Regions from separate parts of the Homo sapiens genome. Here all the other regions are linked to region 1. Evidence: promoter capture Hi-C in 16 types of primary human blood cells and fetal thymus (Javierre and others, 2016). All regions are on one chromosome and are shown on one strand. The core of a region is centred on a gene start or on the middle of the fragment in contact, and the rest is flanking DNA. Distances in the headings are between cores, read along the strand shown. Region 1 holds the start of INHBA (inhibin subunit beta A). Region 2 overlaps SUGCT (succinyl-CoA:glutarate-CoA transferase). Region 3 overlaps SUGCT (succinyl-CoA:glutarate-CoA transferase).

Region 1 (3,522 bases), core at 283-2,782:
ACACACACACTACTTTGTGTGGAGGCGGAGGGGATGTTTTCAGGACACTAGGGTTCATGTGTGGGTCAGGGGTGAGTTTAGATGCCCTGAAGGTCATTGACTCCACTAATTCTCAGCAAAAAGGGTGGAGAAGTTTCTTTCTTATAAAGGGTTTGAGTTCACCCAGTGCTAAGCTGAGGGGCAGGTTTGGAGTTCACCATCATTAATCCTATTTCTGTCTTCGCCACTCAGATTCACTCTCTTCCTCTACAACCTAATGATTTTTTTCCTACTTCATTTCTGCATATGCAGTTCTTAGAATACTCCTTCCCCCCACCCCCATGCAGCTCAGCACCCACACTTTCTCTGTATCTAGCCAAGAGAGACCCTTTTACACAGAAAACTTCTGGTGTCCTAATGGAACCTGCTTAAGCCACACATCAGGAGGCCAGAGCCTCTATATTTTGCTTGTGGGCACAGTGAAAAGTTTATTTTATGCATGTTAAATCCTGCATACAAAACAACATATCTGGTCATATGGCTCTCATTAGCTCCCAATTTTGCACATTTTATCCAACTTGTCATGAGAACTGGGCTTATGCTTCAACTGTAGTCCTTCAAACAACCCTTCACCGTTCTTGTCAGAGGACCCCTTCCTCCTGTGTTATTTACCAGACTTGCCAACACCCCTCCCCCACAAAAAAAGCCTGACCAGCTTTACCCCTATTTCAAGGAGTGTTCACTTCTTTTCATTAATCTGCTGTTATATTTGTAACAATTTAGAAATTATAGGAGTTGAAGTTCTGGTAAAAAAGAATGATGCATGAGGGTTTTTGTTGTTGTTGTTGTTGTGTGTGTGTGTGTGTGTGTGTGTGTTTGGTTAGTTAGAATGAGATTCTAAAGACCTGGGAAGGATACTTATGAAGTTCATTTAAAGAGAATTACTATTTCCAAAGTTCTTGATTTATGAAGCAGGCATTCAATTTCAAGATGTAAAATAATAGTGTAAGTTGGTTGGGGTCGGGGGAGACCATCATCATATGATTATACAGATTTTCCCAATTTTTTTCCTCAATGAAATAGCTTATTTTAAAAATATAAAATTAGAATCCCTATAAAGAACACTACCAATTTTCTTTCCTGAAAGAAACAATAAAATACTTTGTAAATAGAAGCAACTTCATGAAGTAACAGATGTTTTATGTAAAGACATAAAACTGAACCTGAATATAACGAGACGTGTGTGCGAGTAGTAAAAGTTGAAAGTTGGACACACTCATTGAGACATATCTATTTGATTCCAATGTTTTTCTAAAAGGTAGAGTAATCCTAGCCAGAGGTTTCACTGGCTCAGTGCATCACCCAGTAGTGTCTCAGAAGCCAGGAAGGGCTTTCCATTAGATAATGAATTATGAAATGTCTCACACTGGAAAAACCAGTCATCCGCTGATGTCATGCTGATTCCAACCAATCCCAAACAAAGCCCCAGCCCTCCTCTGTTTCAGTGGTACCAATGTGTGGTGTACAAATAAGTAGTACAGTATAAAACTTCACAGTGCCAATACCATGAAGAGGAGCTCAGACAGCTCTTACCACATGATACAAGAGCCGGCTGGTGGAAGAGTGGGGACCAGAAAGGTAATGCTTTTTAACTCTTACTTCTGAGCTCTTTACACATTCAAAGATAGGAAAGCTAGGAGGAATTTTACAACTAATTGGCATTTCCAATGTGCATTGTGATGTGTACCTTTTTATATTATTCAGGCAGGTTAATACAGCTTTTAATAGTCCTAGAGCATGCAAATAGATTATATGTTTATACAAGCCACTCAGCACATATATACAAGTACATATGCCAAAGAGAAAGCTATTTTTAAGAGTTACATTCGCAAACAGTAAATTCAGGGAACACACACATACTCAGATGCAGAGAGAATCCAAATATTGATAAGTTGCACTTATCTAAATGCTGCTATTAGGACTCCTGAGTTGTTTAGAGCCATTAAACTTTTGGTTGTATTTCAGACTTTCTTGTAAAACTTAATTGAACTGCAAAACATTTTGGGTACTGTATATGTGACTCCAAATAGGTGGATGATGTTAAGTATTATAGCACAAAGATTTTTTATAAAACCATTGTAACACAAATGTCCCCTGCCTCCCCCATTCTCTTTCACCATCCCCGTAAAAAATATGAGGCTTTTTAGGCAATGTTGACAAAGTTTTAACAATAATGGTGGAGTAATTGATGTTTCTGGAGCTGAAACCCCAAAGGTGTTAGGTTACTTGTAACAGAAAAAGTCTTACAAATAGTTGTTTTGGAAAAGGGGACAGTATATATAATTCAGAAAGCATTGTTAACCTGTGCAAACTGTAATTATAACTTAGTGTCACAATTTTCTTGCCCTCTTCCCCTTGCACTCAGATCTTATCTTGTAGTAATGATATTTATTAACTCTTTCCACCTAAACTGCATTGCTTGACTGTAATGCTATGAACACACTAGGTGTCAGATATAAGCTGAGTGTATCTTCAGAAACCAAGAGGGCTTATGTGTGGGAAAGAAACCGAGAGGGAAGGAACGCTTTAACAGATGGACCCCTTAAAGATTCTTCTGCAAGATAAAAGCAATAAGACAGAAAATGAAAAAGAGGGGAGGGGGAAGAATTTTTTTTAAGCCTTAGAAAGGCATTGTTAAAAAATTCACATTTTTCTTTTTCTGTGCACACTAAAATCCATGATGATTTCATCTGCACTGTTCCTTTGAGGGAAAAAGAAGCAGTCAAGGAGGCTGTCTATGAATGCACTGGTCGGGACAGGCTTGGGGCAAGCTGAAAAAACTACCACATGACAGAGAAAAATAATTTGCCAATATATTTTAGAGAGTCTTTTCCCATAGGACCAGTTATTCAAGTCATACGAGTGCACTCTTTTTATAAAAGGATGTGGGAAAGGCCAAGAGAATTTTGCATTTTATCTGTGAAGTCCGGCGAGTGGTGGTAGGCTGTAATGTGTGAGAGTGAGTGGGTCCCCGGCAGAAGGGGGCAGCTGAACGCGACGGGGAGAAAGCGCTTCTGGAACTTGGGCTTGTGACAGGCTGCCTGCCCTCTGGTCCTTCAGTGCCCTGCTGCATTTCACAGTTGGGAAGAGTGGAGTGTATTATATGACCCCAAACAAAAGTTCCATTGCGCTCTCCTCAGATTGCCTGCCAGTGTTGATGACCTGAACATTTAAATATGAATGAATTGGGGGAAAGGACCATCTCCCCTGGATCCCATCAGGCCAGAACAATCCTCTGTTACCCCTGAGTCCCTCTTCCCTGACCTCCACTACCTGTCCACTGGACCTCCCTGCACCCTCTGCCCCACCACGTGGCCAGGTGGGCGTTCTACCACCTAGGGCTGTGGCTTGGCTGGGTGGAGGGGCGGTGGGAACACTTTTTCAATCAATTCATCCCTATTGATTGAGACACTGTGTTTGTTTGGGGTTTCTTTTCTCCCCTCCAAAAAAGGAAGAAGGTGAAACCAGGAGACTGGGCAGAGA
Region 2 (3,522 bases), core at 276-2,775, 1.3 Mb after region 1:
CTCAACAAAAAATACAAAACTTGGCCAGGTGCAGTGGCTTGCGCCTACAGTTCCAGCTACTCAGGAGGCTGGGGTGGGAGGATCACTTGAGCCTGGGAGGTAGAAGCTGCAAGTGAGCCATGACTGCACCACAGCTTCCAGCCCAGGCGACACAGCAAGATGCTGTCTCAAAAAAACAAACAAAAGAAACAAAAAGCAGAGAGAGAGAGAACAGAAAATAAAGGCCAAAACCATGTAGGCCTTTGTGTATCTGTTCATAAAATAAGTTCAAATCACTGAGGTATTATTAACATAAATGGTTAAAGGTGAATGGAATAACTATTTGAAGGGCCCACACTACTTATCTTTGGGCAAATGACTTCATTTTGCTTCTGTTTGTTTTGTGTTTCCCTGTCATTTTGGTATTTTCCTGAGCTCTCCAAATTTCCAACAATGAGAATGCTTCCATTTCGTAATTAGAAAAAGCTCATAAATGTTATTTTAATAGTATGGGTTCAATGGAAGTTGTAATTAGAAAAGAAAAAAAGTTTTTAAAAATTCTATAAATCTGAGATTCCCTCCACAATGATGCAACTGTGGGAAAAATTGCTTTGGTAATAAACTATAACCCAGGTAAACTGTGAAAAAGAAAATGGCTGAAAAATATTCTTAGACAGTTGGGTATTGACTTGGAAAATTAGGACTTCATGAGGAGTTCCACGAGGTCACCATCTAAGTAAGCAGAAAGCGGGAGGCATACTAGGATGGGATAAAAATAATCAAGTCAATCCTTCGGTTTGCAGAAGTCAGTTTTTAACATGGTTTCAGGAACAAAAGTGTTCAAATGATAAGGACTAGGTTTCCTAAATTACTAGTAATATAGATGAGTATCTCTAGAAAAGTAACTAAAGAATATTTTCTCAATAGTAGCTCCAATATATATGATAAATAGAATATGCACATATATGCATTATACATTAACCAAGAGCATCTGTCATTTAAACAAAAGGAGGTAACTGTAATTAATGTTGCTTTCAAGTTTAAGAAATGCTCTAGCAATACTGTCTTTTAAATAAAAAAGGTATCATCTTCAATTTGCCTTCCAAATTTTTTTACATAATGACTACCAAAAGACTACAGAAAAGTACATTTAATCTGAATGACTTGGAGAAGCTTGGCGGCATCGAAATCAATAAACCATTAATATCCTTTCAAAGAAAATAGGTAAAATAGAACTAAAGAAAACGTCTGAACTCAGGGGTAAGGTAGTTTATGGTAATAGAAAACTATTCCAGCATCACTAGGGAATGAATTGGATGGCTCTTATTTCAGAGAATATGTCCTGTTTTAAGCTAAGATAGTCTCGTTTAGAGGAAATATAAATGAAAATTTTCTTCTAGTCTATGTTGCCAATTCGTAAATTGGGGGAGGGGGGGACTCTTAATTCATTCCTAAGAAAAGCTTTCTAAAAGCTCAGATCTGCCAAATCCTTTTGCAGAGGAGTGCCAAAATAGAACGAGGGAAGATCAAAAACAAAGTTATTGTCAATGCTGTTCATTCTTCAATACTTAACACTGAACAGAACAATACTCTTTTTTTTGGCATGATCTTCTTCTTAGTACTGAAGCTTACTATTTCTATCTTCTTAAGACTTAAAGAGGACCATAAATGATGACGTACTTCTTTTTTTTAATTTTTGCCAGTTTTAATATAATATTTTATATTTTCATCAACTTTAAAGATATATAAATAATTGAATATTTACATTAATTTCAGATAATATCCTGACAAATGCTAACTTTCATTGTTTTATTAAAACAAAATATCTGGAATTATGCTTAAATACTAAAAGCCATTTCATCCAGCTTTTGGAATATCACACAGCTACATTTATTATATTTCTATTCATAGAGCCAATCAGGGTAAAATTTTCCTTGAATCAACAAAGATACGTGAACGGCAAAATTTATCTGATGACAATAAGGTGAATTGCAAGCATTTTTGTGTACGTTTGTGCATTTGAATTCTTATATTCATTCATATTTTGTTTTCTTTGTTGTAGTCTTCAAAGAAGGCCTTCAAGCTCTTTGTTCTTTTTTTTATCTTTTTTGACAAAAAAATGTATTTAAGTTTTTATTTTTGTAAGGTAGACTTTATTTCGAAACTTGTTTTCAACCAAGAACCTAGACTATCATCATATTTCCCAGTTTTCTGTCCATATGTATAATTTAAAGCTTAGCAAAAATAGCTGAGGGATCCTTTGTTTCTAGTCCCATGCCAAATGATCATTGTAAAAATTCAGAATTCTCTCAGCTGTCATTGAATATGAATGAGCACCTAAAAAACCAGTATACTTTGCAATATTATTTACTCTTTTAAAAACTTCTCAAAAGTCTAGGACAGATTTTTGGAATACTTATCCCTGAGATACATTCTTATGATTAAATTACAACTTTTTGAATAAAGAGAATAGTGTACATTAACTCACAATTGAACAAACCCTAATCAGGTTAACTCTCTAGTTAACCTAAATAAATCAATTTCCTTGCCTAATGAAAAGACCTTTGAAAAAATTATGACAGTGAGAAAACTCTGAAAGTGAAAGAAATCTGACCTGTCTCCATCTTGCTTCTAACCTCCAAGTTGCCCTCGTTCATTCCTCTGTGTAGGCCAAACTTGAGAGGAATTTACTTTATAGTTTAACTTTGAAACAAAGATGATAACAGTCCCTCCCCAAAATGAACCCATCCTTGCTTGGGGACCACACTGCCTTTGTGAAACTAATAAATCAGCCACAACATTAGAAATTATGGCTCACAAGTCACACAGCCAAAGGCCACAAGATTCCTAACCTCCCCAGTTACTCCTATATATAATATTACCATTGTCAAACCTAAGATTGGTATTGGAGGTATTTCTCAGACCCTGCATTCTGATGAACCAGCTGGCGTCATCCAGACTAGTACACTGTATCATCTCATCTGTAAGAACTGACTCAGCAAGAAGACAGCTTCAGCTCCCTATGATTTTATCCCCCACTCAACCAATCAGCATCCCCCATTCCCTAGCCACCTGCCTATCAAACTACCTTCGAAAAACCCTATGCTCCAAATTTTCAGGGAGGCTGATTTAAGGAATGATAAAACTCCTGTCTCCCATTTAGCTAGCTCTATGAGTATTAAACTCTATTGCAATTCCCATGTTGATAAATTGGCTCTATCTGGGCAGCAGACAAGAAGAACGCACTGTGTGGTCACACCAATGGCATCACCATGAAAATCTGCATTATAGGATTTCATAAATTGAAACTAACATTTCCTCATTGGTTTTTCTTTTTTTTTTTTTTTTTTTTTTAGACAGAGTCTTGCTCTGTCACCCAAGGTAGAGTACAGTGGCGCTATCTCCGCTCACTGCAACCTCTGCCTCCCAGGTTCAAGCAATTCTCCTGCCTCAGCCTCCCGAGTAGCTGGGACTACAGGCACCTACCACCACGCCTGGCTAATTTTTGTATTTTTAGTAGAGACAGGGTTTTGCCATGTTGGC
Region 3 (3,522 bases), core at 379-2,878, 1.2 Mb after region 1:
CCGGGGGTAGGGAGGAAGGGGAACAAGGGTTGACCAACTAACTATTGAGTATCATGCTCAGCACCCGGCTGATGGAATCATTTGTAACCCAAACCTCAGCATCACACAATACACCTGGGTAACAAACCAGCACATGTACCCATGGAATCTAAAAGTTGGAGGAAAAAAAATTAAAAATAAGTGATATTATATATACAAACTTATCTCCAAATTATAAAAATTTTGAGATAGACTATGTTTTATTGCATCTTTATATTTAGATAAATGATAATGAAGATATTATATTTAATTGAATGCAAATTTGTTCTGCCATGAAAATGTAATCTATAGAGAAGAGTCACTCACCAAACACTAAAAACATTAAAAAATCTTATAAATAAATATATTTGAAATCATTTCAGTTTTGGGGAAAATCTCTTTGTGATCACCTGTCACCAATAAGTTATAAACATATGTTAAGACAAATAGAGTAGGCAAAACTTATAGTCGAAAACATTTTATTTCTTGAAAGCATGTTTACCATTATAATGGCATAAGTAATTTTTCAAATTTAACTAAAGGTTATTCGGAAATTACTGGAAATCAGAATGAAAGATAAAGAAATTTTAGGCCGGGCGCAGTGGCTCACACCTGTAATCTCAGCACTTTGGGAGGCCTAGGTGGGTGGATCACCTAAGGTCAGGAGTTCAAGACCAGTCTGGCCAACATGCCGAAACCCCGTCTCTACTAAAAATACAAAAATCAGCTGGGCACGGCGGCACATGCCTGTAAACCCAGCTACTGGGCATGGCAGCACATGCCTGTAGTCCCAGCTACTCGTGAGGCTGAGGAAGAGAATCGCTTGAACCTGGGAGGTGGAGGTTGCGGTGAGCCAAGATCGTGCCACTGCACTAAAGCCTAGGCGACAGAGTGAGACTCCGTCTCAAAAAAAAAAAGAAATTAAGAACTAATTATTTGATTCTTACAAATATGTCCTAATTCAATATGAAATCATTGGCATAATGAAAAGCAAATTCTTACTGAACACTATCAATAAGATCAATGTCCTTAGAATTATTAAATTATATTGGAAGTGACAACTAATAGCACACCACAAAAACAGAATCTGTGGTAAGTTACAGGCAATAGACAAAAACCATCTCAAAGAGAGTTTCTCTAGTTTCATTAGTCTTAAGAGAACATAGTAAGATCATCACAAATAGGTATTGGGGATTTTTTTAAATGGTACCAATTTAAAGTTATTTTCCTAAAAATTTATGCCAATCCTAAGCTTATGCCATTAACACACACAAACACTTAGCTACAAAATTTAAGTATATACTTTCGAATGTCACATATGTCTTTTGGATGTAGCAGTGATAGTTTTCAGAGAAAATGGCAATTAAAGAATTGCAAACTGTTCCCAAACCTGTAAGTTATTTGTGTACATCTGTAAAAAGACTGTCCATTTTGCAATATTTTAACCAATAGGGAGTAATAATGTAAAAGAAGCTGAGTAACTTTTTAAAACATGCTGTATTTATATTATGATGCATTATTAGGTGTGACTGAAATGTTCACAAAAGTTATTAAAACACTAGATGTTTTAGAAAGTTGTTATTTAATAGAACATATAAGTGATGGAAAATCAAGTAGGTAATACTATTTTTCAGATCAGAATTTATGTTTTGCCTAAATTTTGGTTATATGCTAAGTTATAAGAATTCTCTTAAATAGGTTAAATGTAGACTTAAAGATAATTTCTTTGCCTTCAAAATTAGAAGTAGTTCTTTAGAAGTGGCTAAATTTCAAAATTTCTTTGCAATTGTGGAAAATATGTCAAAAATATTCTCCAAATGCAAAAAAAGTCTACAAAACTGTAAAAACATAAAACAAGATTTTGGATTTATATATTTCTGCATAATTATAGTAAAATATAAATATTAACACTTAATTGATATTCTAAAATATCAATTAGATTGATTAGATACACTATTACTAAGCTTGTTTATATTTTGAGAGCAATAATTTAAGCAAAGTAAAAGAAAGTTTAGAACTACCCTTTAACAAAATAGACACATATGAAACAATTGAGAATGTGCAAAAATTTTATAGGTGAGGAAAATGTGACTCACAGATTTTTGTTTCATTGGTCAACACATAATTAAATTTTATTTATTATTGTATCACCTTTATACATTTCTGTTTTTAACACAAAATTCAAAATAATGCTACTTGTATTTCATGGCTATTACAGGGCATATTACTTTAGCTTGCACAGTTACTATAGCAACTTGTTATATTCTGCACCATCTGAAAATATTTTGGGGGTAAAAGGAAGGGTTTATAAAGGGATTTAGTAGCCTATCACAGATTTTACAAAGCAGAAACTGTTAAGCAACTCAATAAAAATTAAAGATCACATTTCTATTTACTCATGTGAGCTGAGAGACTGATGATGTGGTATTGGTTTAATTTCAACATAATTAAAATATTGTATTCATAATTCACATACGAAACATTAATTTACAGGTCCTAAAGCTTTACTGTTGTGGAACATAGTGTTGATACTATTGTTTGGATGACATAATGGAATCAGTATGTTACTTTATGAACATCCCCTCTTAATATTAAAAAACAAAACAAACGAAAAACCTTCTTTGCCTAATGTTAACCTAAAATGTCTAAAAATTTTTGCTTGCTTACCTAGAATCAACTCTAGAGAACCTCACACTACAGATTAAAAGTAATCCAAGGCGATCCACAAACACAGCAAATACACACACACACACACACACACACACACACACACACACACACAGACATACTTGCTCAGTTCAGGGTGTCAGACTTGAAGTGATTCTTAATCCTTCAGAATTTACTGGGTCTTAAGAATCCTACAGATTCTCTCCATTCCAGAAAAATTATACACACACAGATACCTATCTAATGCTTATCATTAGGCCTCTCCTTAGGGGAATTAACCCCACATTAATAAATTTTCACTTAAAAGAATGACTATTTTCTTCCTGATGGTCACTCAAGGAGTATAAGGCATGGCTAAATTTTCATTTGTTTCATTTTAATGGTTCCAAACTAAATACTTAAAATGTTTCTGATACTTTGAGTCACTCTAAGACATCAAATCATTCATGAGCATTGGATCCTTATTTCTGAAGAAGAAATTTCAAAACAATTTTAACCAACCCCAGATGAACATCTGTATGAGACCAACCTTGCAGTTGGCCTCACCCCTTAGGCTAGTTCCCTTACTTCCCAGGCTTCTGAACAAATGGTTACCCAGAAGGACAAAATGAAAGGCTTGCCTATACATGTGGCAGAAACATATTTTTTGAATGAATAAAAATATATATGGCCGGGCGCGGTGGCTCACGCCTGTAATCCCAGCACTTTGGGAGGCCGAGGCAGGCGGATCATGAGGTCAGGAGATCGAGATCATCCTGGCTAACACAGGTGAAACCCCATCTCTACTAAAAATATAAAAAATTAGCCGGGCGTAGTGGCGGGCGCCTGTAGTCCCCG

The links. The method cuts DNA at HindIII sites, captures the fragments that hold promoters and counts their contacts. A CHiCAGO score of 5 or more calls a contact.
Region 2: a fragment that was not itself captured here is called in contact with the fragment with the promoter of INHBA in region 1 in 1 of 17 cell types (naive B cells); the score reaches 5.6 in naive B cells.
Region 3: a contact is called between a fragment that was not itself captured here and the fragment with the promoter of INHBA in region 1, in 1 of 17 cell types (M2 macrophages). The highest score is 5.3, in M2 macrophages.

What each region holds. Positions count from the first base shown.
Region 1 is chr7:41,701,100-41,704,621 of GRCh38, reverse strand. INHBA (inhibin subunit beta A) reads left to right here and starts at 1,532. Exons shown (of 3, transcript NM_002192.4): 1 at 1,532-1,617. All of the region lies in intron 1 of INHBA-AS1 (INHBA antisense RNA 1), which reads right to left. The HindIII fragment of the contact is 6,998 bases long and covers 1-3,522 here.
Region 2 is chr7:40,405,620-40,409,141 of GRCh38, reverse strand. The region is part of intron 9 of SUGCT (succinyl-CoA:glutarate-CoA transferase); the gene reads right to left. Among named protein-coding and RNA genes, the nearest start is that of SUGCT-AS1, 140 kb to the left of the region's middle. The HindIII fragment of the contact is 166 bases long and covers 1,443-1,608 here.
Region 3 is chr7:40,531,805-40,535,326 of GRCh38, reverse strand. The region is part of intron 12 of SUGCT (succinyl-CoA:glutarate-CoA transferase); the gene reads right to left. Among named protein-coding and RNA genes, the nearest start is that of SUGCT-AS1, 13 kb to the left of the region's middle. The HindIII fragment of the contact is 712 bases long and covers 1,273-1,984 here.